Regions from separate parts of the Homo sapiens genome. Here regions 2 and 3 are each linked to region 1. Evidence: promoter capture Hi-C in 16 types of primary human blood cells and fetal thymus (Javierre and others, 2016). All regions are on one chromosome and are shown on one strand. Each heading gives the region's core, a stretch centred on a gene start or on the middle of the fragment in contact. The rest is flanking DNA. Distances are from core to core; before and after follow the strand shown.

The links. The method cuts DNA at HindIII sites, captures the fragments that hold promoters and counts their contacts. A CHiCAGO score of 5 or more calls a contact.
Region 2: a contact is called between a fragment that was not itself captured here and the fragment with the promoter of NCOR1 in region 1, in 2 of 17 cell types (M2 macrophages and M0 macrophages). The highest score is 6.1, in M2 macrophages.
Region 3: a contact is called between a fragment that was not itself captured here and the fragment with the promoter of NCOR1 in region 1, in 1 of 17 cell types (erythroblasts). The highest score is 5.6, in erythroblasts.

What each region holds. Positions count from the first base shown.
Region 1 is chr17:16,214,004-16,216,932 of GRCh38, reverse strand. NCOR1 (nuclear receptor corepressor 1) reads left to right here and starts at 1,399. Exons shown (of 46, transcript NM_006311.4): 1 at 1,399-1,571. RefSeq lists enhancers at 1,134-1,193, 771-1,686, 1,687-2,603 and a silencer at 1,464-1,933. The HindIII fragment of the contact is 4,024 bases long and covers 1-2,929 here.
Region 2 is chr17:16,519,543-16,522,471 of GRCh38, reverse strand. No RefSeq gene overlaps it. Among named protein-coding and RNA genes, the nearest start is that of LRRC75A, 29 kb to the right of the region's middle. RefSeq lists an enhancer at 1,131-1,180. The HindIII fragment of the contact is 3,853 bases long and covers 1-2,929 here.
Region 3 is chr17:15,955,705-15,958,633 of GRCh38, reverse strand. All of the region lies in intron 1 of ADORA2B (adenosine A2b receptor), which reads right to left. Among named protein-coding and RNA genes, the nearest start is that of ADORA2B, 12 kb to the right of the region's middle. The HindIII fragment of the contact is 1,610 bases long and covers 665-2,274 here.

The DNA.
Region 1 (2,929 bases), core at 150-2,649:
CATTTCTTAAAACTCGGGCCTTTCTCGTAATTATAGGGTTAGACAGCCCGTTATCCGTATGACAGTTTTCCAAAATAGCCAGTTACACCAACTTTGTTATTCCTTCTCACTTTTGGATGGCTTTCTTTACCTTTTTTTTTTTTTTTGAGAGGCTCTGTCGCCCAGGCTGGAGTGCAGTGGAGCGATCTCGGCTCACTGCAACCTCTGTCTCCCGGGTTCAAGCGACTCTTCTGCCTCAGCCTCCCGAGTAGCTGGGACTATAGGCGCGCGCCACCACGCCCAGCTAATTTTTGTATTTTTAGTAGAGAGGGGGTTTCACCATGTTAACTAGGCTGGTCTCGAACTCCTGACTTCGTGATCCGCTCGCCTCGGCCTCCCAAAGTGCTGGGATTACAGGCCTGAGCCACCGCGCCCGGCCCTTTCTTTTTTTTTTTTGAAACGGTCTGGCTCCGTCGCCCAGGCTGGAGTGCAGTGGCGCGACCTAGGTTCGCTGCTACCTCAGCCTCCCGCGTTCAAGCAATTCTCCCACTTCGGTCTCCCCAGTAGCTGGGATTACTGGCGCGCGCCACCACGCCCGCTTAATTTTTGTATTTTTAGTAGTGACGGGGTTTCTCCATGTTCGTCAGGCTGGTCTCGAACTCCTGACCTTAAGTGATGGCCCGCCTCGGCCTCCCTAAGTGCTGGGATTACAAGCGTGACCCACTGCGTCCGGTCGGGCCTGGCTTTTCTAAAGGAACGTATGCGTGCGGTTACGAGGAACCGTCGTTTCCCCAGCAGGGTGAGGCTGAGCGTGCACTTAACAGTCGCGAGGGCCACAGGCTCCTCTTGCAAGTAACTTAAGGTTAAGGAGCAACATCGTGGACAAATCGGCCTCGCCCAGCATTTCAGTGAGGGCTTGGTGCGAATTCCAGCCAGAGCCCTAGAAAGTATCTTGGGCAGGTCGAAATGCACCCCTCCAGCTCCCAGCCACGAGGGGACCGGCTTCCCTGTACGCAGCTCCGGCCAGAGGAGGCCGCCGCCGCCCCACCACGCCGCGGAGGGGTTTGCAGGGTCCCTTCCACGGCCTGGAGTTTTTCCTTTTCCCACGCCTGAGGAAGGCCTCGGGCGCGCGGAACAGACGGGCAGGCGGGGGGCGCACAAGCCCAGGGCACGATGGCAGCAGCGCTGGATCCGGCTGGGCGCTGCTCGGCCCCGTATCCGTCCGAGAGGACCGCCGCTGCCAGGCCTAGAGGAGACATGAAGAGACCGGGCGCAGCGCGACCCGGGAAGCTCCGCCGAGGTAGGAGAGGCGCCCGGCCAGCGGAGGGAGTTGGTCTCCCAACTCTCCGGAAGGAGGAGGAGCCGGCGCTGGAGCCGCCTTAGCCGCGGCTCCGCGGGCTGGGGGGAGGGAGAGGGGTTGAGTCAAGATGGCGGCCAAGGTGGCGAAGCAGCAGCCGCGGCGGCGGCGGCGGCTGGAGTGAGCGTCCGACTCGCCGCGCCGAACGAGGTCCCGGTGTAGGGCCGCGCGCCGTGGCCGCGTCCCACTCCTCAGGCCGGGGCGCACGTCGGCTCCCACGCTTAGCCAGCTCCCGGTGAGTAGGCCCTGGCGCCTGCAACCCCGGCCTCCGGGCTCCTGCTAGTCCGGGGGCTTCCGAGGGCTCCCGGGGCAGCAGCCGCTGGGACGGTTTCTCCGCCGGGCGGGGGGTGTCGCAGGCCTGGGCAGGTCGGGACCCGTCCTGGCCGCCTGGCCTCTTCCACTCGGCAGCCCAGGAGAGAGCCGGGCGCGGCGGGGAGCTCGGGCTGGGCTAGCGGAGGCTTATGGAGTTTGGAGGAAGAATGGGCTGTGGCCGGGCCGGGGCTGGCCCCGAGGTGTCCTGTGCGGAGGGGCGTGCGGAGCCTACAGGGCCTGCGAGGGAGAGCGGGCAGCCGGTGCCCCGGGTGGGGCCGGCGCAGGTGGCGGGCCTGGGCTCACTGAGGCGGAGTTGGTGGCCGACTTGGAAGTGTAGAAGGGGCTGCGGAGGTTGACAGCCATGGACAAGTGCGTGCAGAGTAAATTAGTTCACCTTTCTAACAGACCGCTTCAGGGTGTAATGGCGAAGGCTGGGTACTGGTGGAGATGGCAAAGATCCGAACACTATACCTTCTGCCGTTTATTGTTGGTGTTTTCTTAAGCGAAGTCCGTAAGTGCACCCCTTTTTGGGGAGAGAGGAATTTGAGAAACTGTAGTTGTGAAATCAGCCTTTATGGAGAGGAGACTGAATTCTTCAAATTAACTGGATCAGGAATAGTCATGTATTAAAGGAATGGATGGGAATAAGTGATATGGACGAAAACTATTTGCTCAGGAAGTGTCAGTTTTCTTTATGTGATGTTGCATGCTGCGGTGCCTCTTCCACAGAGTTAACCTTGGAGAGTAGTAGTATAGGTAATTCTAATCTTTGGGATTAGTATGTAAACCTGCATCAGATTTGCTTCTCTAATTATATCCTAATTATATTGAAATTTACATTCCTTGTGTGCACCCTGGTGAGGCAGTGATGGAAGGCTGAACATGGCACTGTGCAAGGAGCAACAGGCCCGGGATTTAAAAATGCCTACAAAGATTCATTCATTCGTTCAATATATCTTGATCAATAGCTGCTGATGCTGGGTCACATGTGATTGTCCTGTGGATAACTGAAGAGTTGATGGCATCGTTTAATTTTTAATAGCTTTTTAAAATGTTTTGATGTACCTTTTCATGAAGATATTTATTGGATGAACCAACTTGTACTTGCCCGGGCTCAGGAGCAGACCAATTTTAGAATGTTATTTAGACAAGGGTAACAATTACAGAAGAAGTAACCGCAAGTTACTGGAGAGAGAAATCTTGTATCTTTTTTTCTTTTTCTGTTAACATCCGGTGGAAGTTTATTTATTTGTTTTAATATTTATAGTACCCAGTTGCTTG
Region 2 (2,929 bases), core at 280-2,779, 310 kb before region 1:
CCTGTGTTCACCATCTTGACCAGTGTCGGTCGGCATCGTTTATCTGGGATAGTGTCATAACAAAACCTAACCTCTCCTGACTGATAGTTAGTTGTCATTCTTACTCTTTTTATTATTATTGCCGAAGGTGATGATTTCTGGAGGAGCCTGAGCTCTTTCTCTTTCCCCTTCTCCCAGCTTCCCTTCTCCACTACATCTCCGTTATTGCATCAATTTCAGGAATACAGCTCCCAATAAATGGAAACAGTAGGACAATTTCAGTAATCATTTTCAGAATTTCTAGAGTCTTCACTGTAACTATTTTTTAGTTTCAGAGCTACTTGTTTCCCAAAATAAATCAAATCAGAGAAAACACATCTCTAGAATTAATTTTTTTTTTTAAGACAGGGTCTCTCACTGTTACCCCAGCTGGAGTGCAGTGGCACAATCACTGCTCACTGAAATCTTGAACTCCTGGGCTCAAGCACCCAGGCTTCTAAGTAGCTGGGACTACAGGTGCATGCCACCACATCAAGCTAATTTTATTTAATAGTACAGAGGAGGTGTCACTATGTTGCTCAGGCTGGTCTCAAACTCCTGGACTCACGTTATCCTCCCACTTTGGCCTCCCAGACTGCTAGGATTACAGGTGTGAACTACTGTGCCTGGCCTAGAGTGAATCTTTAGAATCCACCTCTACTGTGATGTGTCAATATAAGTTAGCAAGAACCAGTGACTTCTGAGTATATGAGTTCCAAACTTCGACATTTCCAAAGTCCCACCTCTGATGGCATTTGTAGGTGACCCCTTAGAGAAAACTTACAGTGTTCTCGCAGGTGCCAAAATTTATGCTGCTTTTTGCCCAACAGTTGGTTAGATATCTCAAGCAACTAAGAGCGTACTGCCATGGATTATGCCTTAAAGTAATGACGGTGCATTTACCAAACCACTCTTCCCTCTCTTACCCTCCAAAAAAATTGCTGTTCTCTCCAGGGCAGCCACAGCTGGAGGGGACGCTAGCTAATCCTCTTATCCCACCACTAGATGGCAGGACAGTCCAGTCTGGCAAATCTCTCTGCCCTGCCTGAACTTCGATGTCCACATCTTTAGTGAAGAGTCTTCCTAACAGAAATGTACTTCCTGGTTAAACATTAGTTTGGACTCAGAGAGCAGACAGGCTCAGATTCAGGCTGAGCCTCCTCCAAGGCAGACAGGTGTTCTCCTGAGGTGCCATTAGGGTTGTACTCATGTGGAGTGAGACGGGGCAAAGCGGAGAGGGAACCAGGGAAGGGAAAGAATTGGTGCTGATCAGATGTCCTGGAGCTTAACTTGCCTGCAGTCTGATGGGTTAGTATGGCAAAGTGGGGCCTGGAAGCCTCAACTCTCTATACCCATATAACCCCTCCACCCCATCCCTCTGCCTCCTGAAGACCCCTGTACAGCAGAGGCCAGTCCCAACAAGGAGGCCAGCACCAGGCTCCCCATCCTCTCTGCTCCAACTCTGTGGGTGTTTAACACACCAAAAGCAAGACTTCTACCAGCCAGGACCCTCTGTGAGCCCCCAGCCAGGAGACAGGCTCTGGGTTCTGAGATGAGGGAAGACGCCGGCATGATGTATGCACCAGCCTTGGGACTCCTAGCAGTACTTCCTTTCTGACACACTATTTTTTCAAAACATCATCCCATCCCTTGACTCAATGCTCTCACTAAGGCCAAGCGCCACGAGGTGACTGTGCCAGAAGCTCCCCAGCCAGTCGGAGCAGCACTGAGATCAGCAGATCCCAGGATCCTACCTCCCAACCTGTTGTCTTCCCAGCACACTGGACTATAGAGAAGACACCCTTGTGATTTGCTACAGGACCCTGCCCCAGCCTCCCTATCAACCTGCACAGTGGTGAGATGCAGTGAGGGCTTCTAGATTATGATCCGGACTAGGATCAGATTGGTCTGGTCTGATGACCCTCTCGGACACTTACTAGCTATGTGACCTTGGGCATGTAGTTTAACCTGTCTGTGCTTTGATGCCTCATCTGTAACATGTGAATTCTTATTGTATCTATGTTTCAAGGCTGTTGTAAGGATAAAATGAGATTGTGTGTGTTAAGGGCTTCCCACAATACCTGACATACAGTGCTCTGTAAATGGCAGAATCAAAAGTTGGATCGAAAATTTAATAGATAGCCACAAAAACAAACAACCCAACCTAAAAATGAGGAAAGACCTGGCCGGGCGCAGTGGCTCACGCCTGTAATCCCAGCACTTTGGGAGGCTGAGGCGGGCAGATCACGAAGTCAGGCGATCAAGACCATCCTGGCCAGCAGGGTGAAACACAGTCTCCTCTGAAATACAAAAAAAATAAGCCCAGTGTGGTGGTGTGTGCCTATAGTCCCAGGTACTCAGGAGACTGAGGCAGAGGAATAGCTTGAACCCGGGAGGCGGAGCTTGCAGTGAGCCGAGATCGCGCCACTGCACTCCAGCCTGGGCAACAAGAGTCAAACTTCCTCTCAAAAAAAAAAAAAAAAAAAAAAAAATGAGGAAAGACCTTTAACAGACATTTCTCCGAAGAAGATATACAAGTGGCCAACAAGCACATGAAAATGTACTCAACATCACTAATCACCAGGGAAATGCAAATCAAGACCACAATGAGAAATCACCTCATACCTGTTAGGATAGCCATTATTGAAAAACAAAACAAAAATCATAAAACGAGGGTTGATGAGGATGTGGAGAAATCGAAGCCCTTGTGCACCATTGGTAAGACTGCGATATGGCCCAGCCACTATAAAAACAGTATGGGCTGGGCACAGTGGCTCAGCCAATAATCCCAGCACTTTGGGAGGCTAAGGCGGGAGGATTGCTTGAGCCCAGAAGTTCAGGACCAGCTTGGACAACACAGTGAGACCCTATCTTTACAAAAAATAAAAAATTAGTCAGACGTGATGGCACA
Region 3 (2,929 bases), core at 220-2,719, 260 kb after region 1:
GAAGTCAGGGTAGAGAAACGAAGGAAAGAGAGGACGGGGATGAGGCCAGAAGCAGACCTAGGCCCCAGACCAGGTGGGGAGTAGGGGCAAGGGAGAGATCTGGGATGACATCCTAAGGCACTGGGAGCACTGGGTAAAGGAAGGAGGTGCACACAGGGGTTCATTTCAGAAAGATTGCAGCTATGTGAAGAATGGGCTAAAAGAACAAGGATGGATGCGGAGAGACCAGATAGGAGAATGCTGCCCTGGAATGGGGCAGACGTGGAGATGGGGCCTAAGAGAAGTGAATGGAGGGAGAGTTTAAGAAGTGTACCTGGGCCGGGCGTGGTGGCTCACGCCTGCAATCCCAGCACTTTGGAAGGCCGAGGTGGGCAGATCACCTGACGTTGGGAGTTTGAGACCAGCCTGACCAACATGGAGAAACCCTGTCTCTACTGAAAATACAAAATTAGCCGGATGCAGTGGCGCACGCCTGTAATCCCAGCTACTCGCGAGGCTGAGGCAGGAGAATCGTTTAAACCTGGGAGACAGAGGTTGCGGTGACCAAGATCGCACCATTGTACTCCAGCCTGGGCAACAAGAGTGAAACTCTGTCTCAAGAAAAAAAAAAAAAAAGGAAGTGTACCTGACAGGTCCTGGTTCTACAATGTCGTTCAATAAAGCTTTGTAGTTCTCTATGTTTAAAAAACAAAACAAACAAACAAAAAAAAACACTCAGCAGTGGTGCTAAAATCAGCAGTGGAAATCAGGATGTCATAGACAGAAAGCTGCTTTGGGAAGTCTGCAGGTGGCGGGACTGGCGCAAAACAGGTGGCACACCAAAGAAGGTTGGGCGGAGACGGGTGGGAGGAGTTTGAACACATTTAAATGGGGAAGGGAAGAGGCTGCTGTGCAGGAATAATGAACGGTCCAGGGCTCCCATAAAGCAGGAGTTGGGTCCAGAGCCAGGTGGAAGAACTAGCAGCCCCAGACTCCCCAAGACTCGACCACTACTGCGTCTCTCAACCTGCAGGCACCTTAAACACAACCTAGGCAACACCTTCCCAAAGCCCCCATCTTCAGGATGGCATCACCCAGGCGACCGGAAATCTGGGAGTCATCCTGGAGTCTTCTTCTCCTTCATGTCCACATCCAACTGAGTCACCAAGTCCTCTTGAACCTGTCCCGTGTGCCCTGTCTTCCAGCCAGAAGCACACGACTATGTGCTATCGATCAGATCTGCTTGCCAGTCACTCATGCTGACTCATTACTGCTCCACAATGGCAGATCTCACGCACATCAATTCCACTCAGCCTGGCCCTAACTACCCACATTTCTAGGTGTCACTCACTGATTGTGGCTCCAGGGCCCATCTGTGGTTCTCAGGACTCTTTCCTATATGATTTTACCTGTGGCTCCTCTGCTCCAGACTGCTGAACTCCATGGCTGGCATCAAACATCAGCCTTCTCTGGTGCAGAAATTGTGGTTCTACGAGTCTCCAATATCTGTAGAGTCTGCTGCCATCTCCATGGCCTCTGCCCTGGTCATGCTTTTTTCCTTCTCATCTGGATGCCAAGTGGCTACCCTATATCATCTTGTCCCGTCCATTCCTTCCTTCAGCTGTCCACCAGTGACTTTTACAATGCAAACCTGACCATATCAAACTCCAGATTAAAATTGTACCTTGGCATTCCAAGTTCCACCTAATTATCACTCCTCACAAAATCACATTTTAATGACAGTAAAGACACACAGGCCGGGTGCGGTGGCTCATGCCTGTAATCCCAGTACTTTGGGAGGCCGAGGCGAGTAGAACACCTGAGGTCAGGAGTTTGAGACCAGCCTGACCAGCATGGTGAAACCCCGTCTCTACTAAAAACACAAAAATCAGCTGGGCATCGTTGGTGGCATGTGCCCGTAATCTCAGCTACTTGGGAGGCTGAGGCAAGAGAATCGCTTGAACCCAGGAGGCAGAGGTTGCAGTGAGCCAAGACTGCACCATTGCACTCCAGCCTGGGCAGTAAGAGCAAAACTGTCTCAAAAAAAAAAAAAAAAAAAAAAAAGACACACATAATCATCCTAAAAAAAGAAGTAGAGGATGATATCAGCAAACCGGAGATTTTTATGAGTTTCTAAAAACAGAAGGTGGACAGGATCATCAGCATGAACCATGGAACCCTAAATTGGAAACATGGATGGCCAGGATGAGAGGCTCCAGTCTAGCAAACAGCAGGGATCAGAATGGGATTAAGAAAAGAACAGATGTCAAGAGGAAGACAGCCTGTGGGCAAGCTTTGGGAGCTGTGGCATTGATCCCCTCCCCCTCCCACACTCTCCCCAAGCTGTGGCTAGAGACCTAGTGATAACGGGTGGGGGAGGGGAAGAGTTTAGGTTATGTACACTCTGCCACACGAGGAATCTCAACCATGTGAATCTAAAAAATGTTTTTCAAAGTCAATTTAAAATCCCTTAGTCTTCATCAAAAGTAAACATATGAATGCTAAAATTGTATTGAAAAATAGAAGAACAAAGGAAAAAAAGCGAAGAAACTCTTACAAAGAATGAGAAAGCACTGGGAACTGTCAGAGAACAGTGATCAGGAAAGGAGGGGACGTCCCCATCTGCCTATTAAGAATCCCAGAGGCGTGGCTCACGCCTGTAATCCCAGCATTTATGGAGGCCGAGGCAGGCAGATCGCTTGAGGTCAGGAGTTCGACACCAGCCTGGCCAATATGGTGAAACCCCATCTCTACCAAAAATACAAAAAATTAGCCACGTGTGGTGGTGCACGCCTGTAATCCTAGCTACTCGAGAGGCTGAGGCAGGAGAATCACTTGAACCCGGGAGGTGAAAGTTGCAGTGAGCCAAGATTGTGCCACTGCACTCCAGCCTGGGTGACAGAACAAGATTCCATCTCAAAAAAAAAAAAAAAAGAATCCCAGAGGCGGC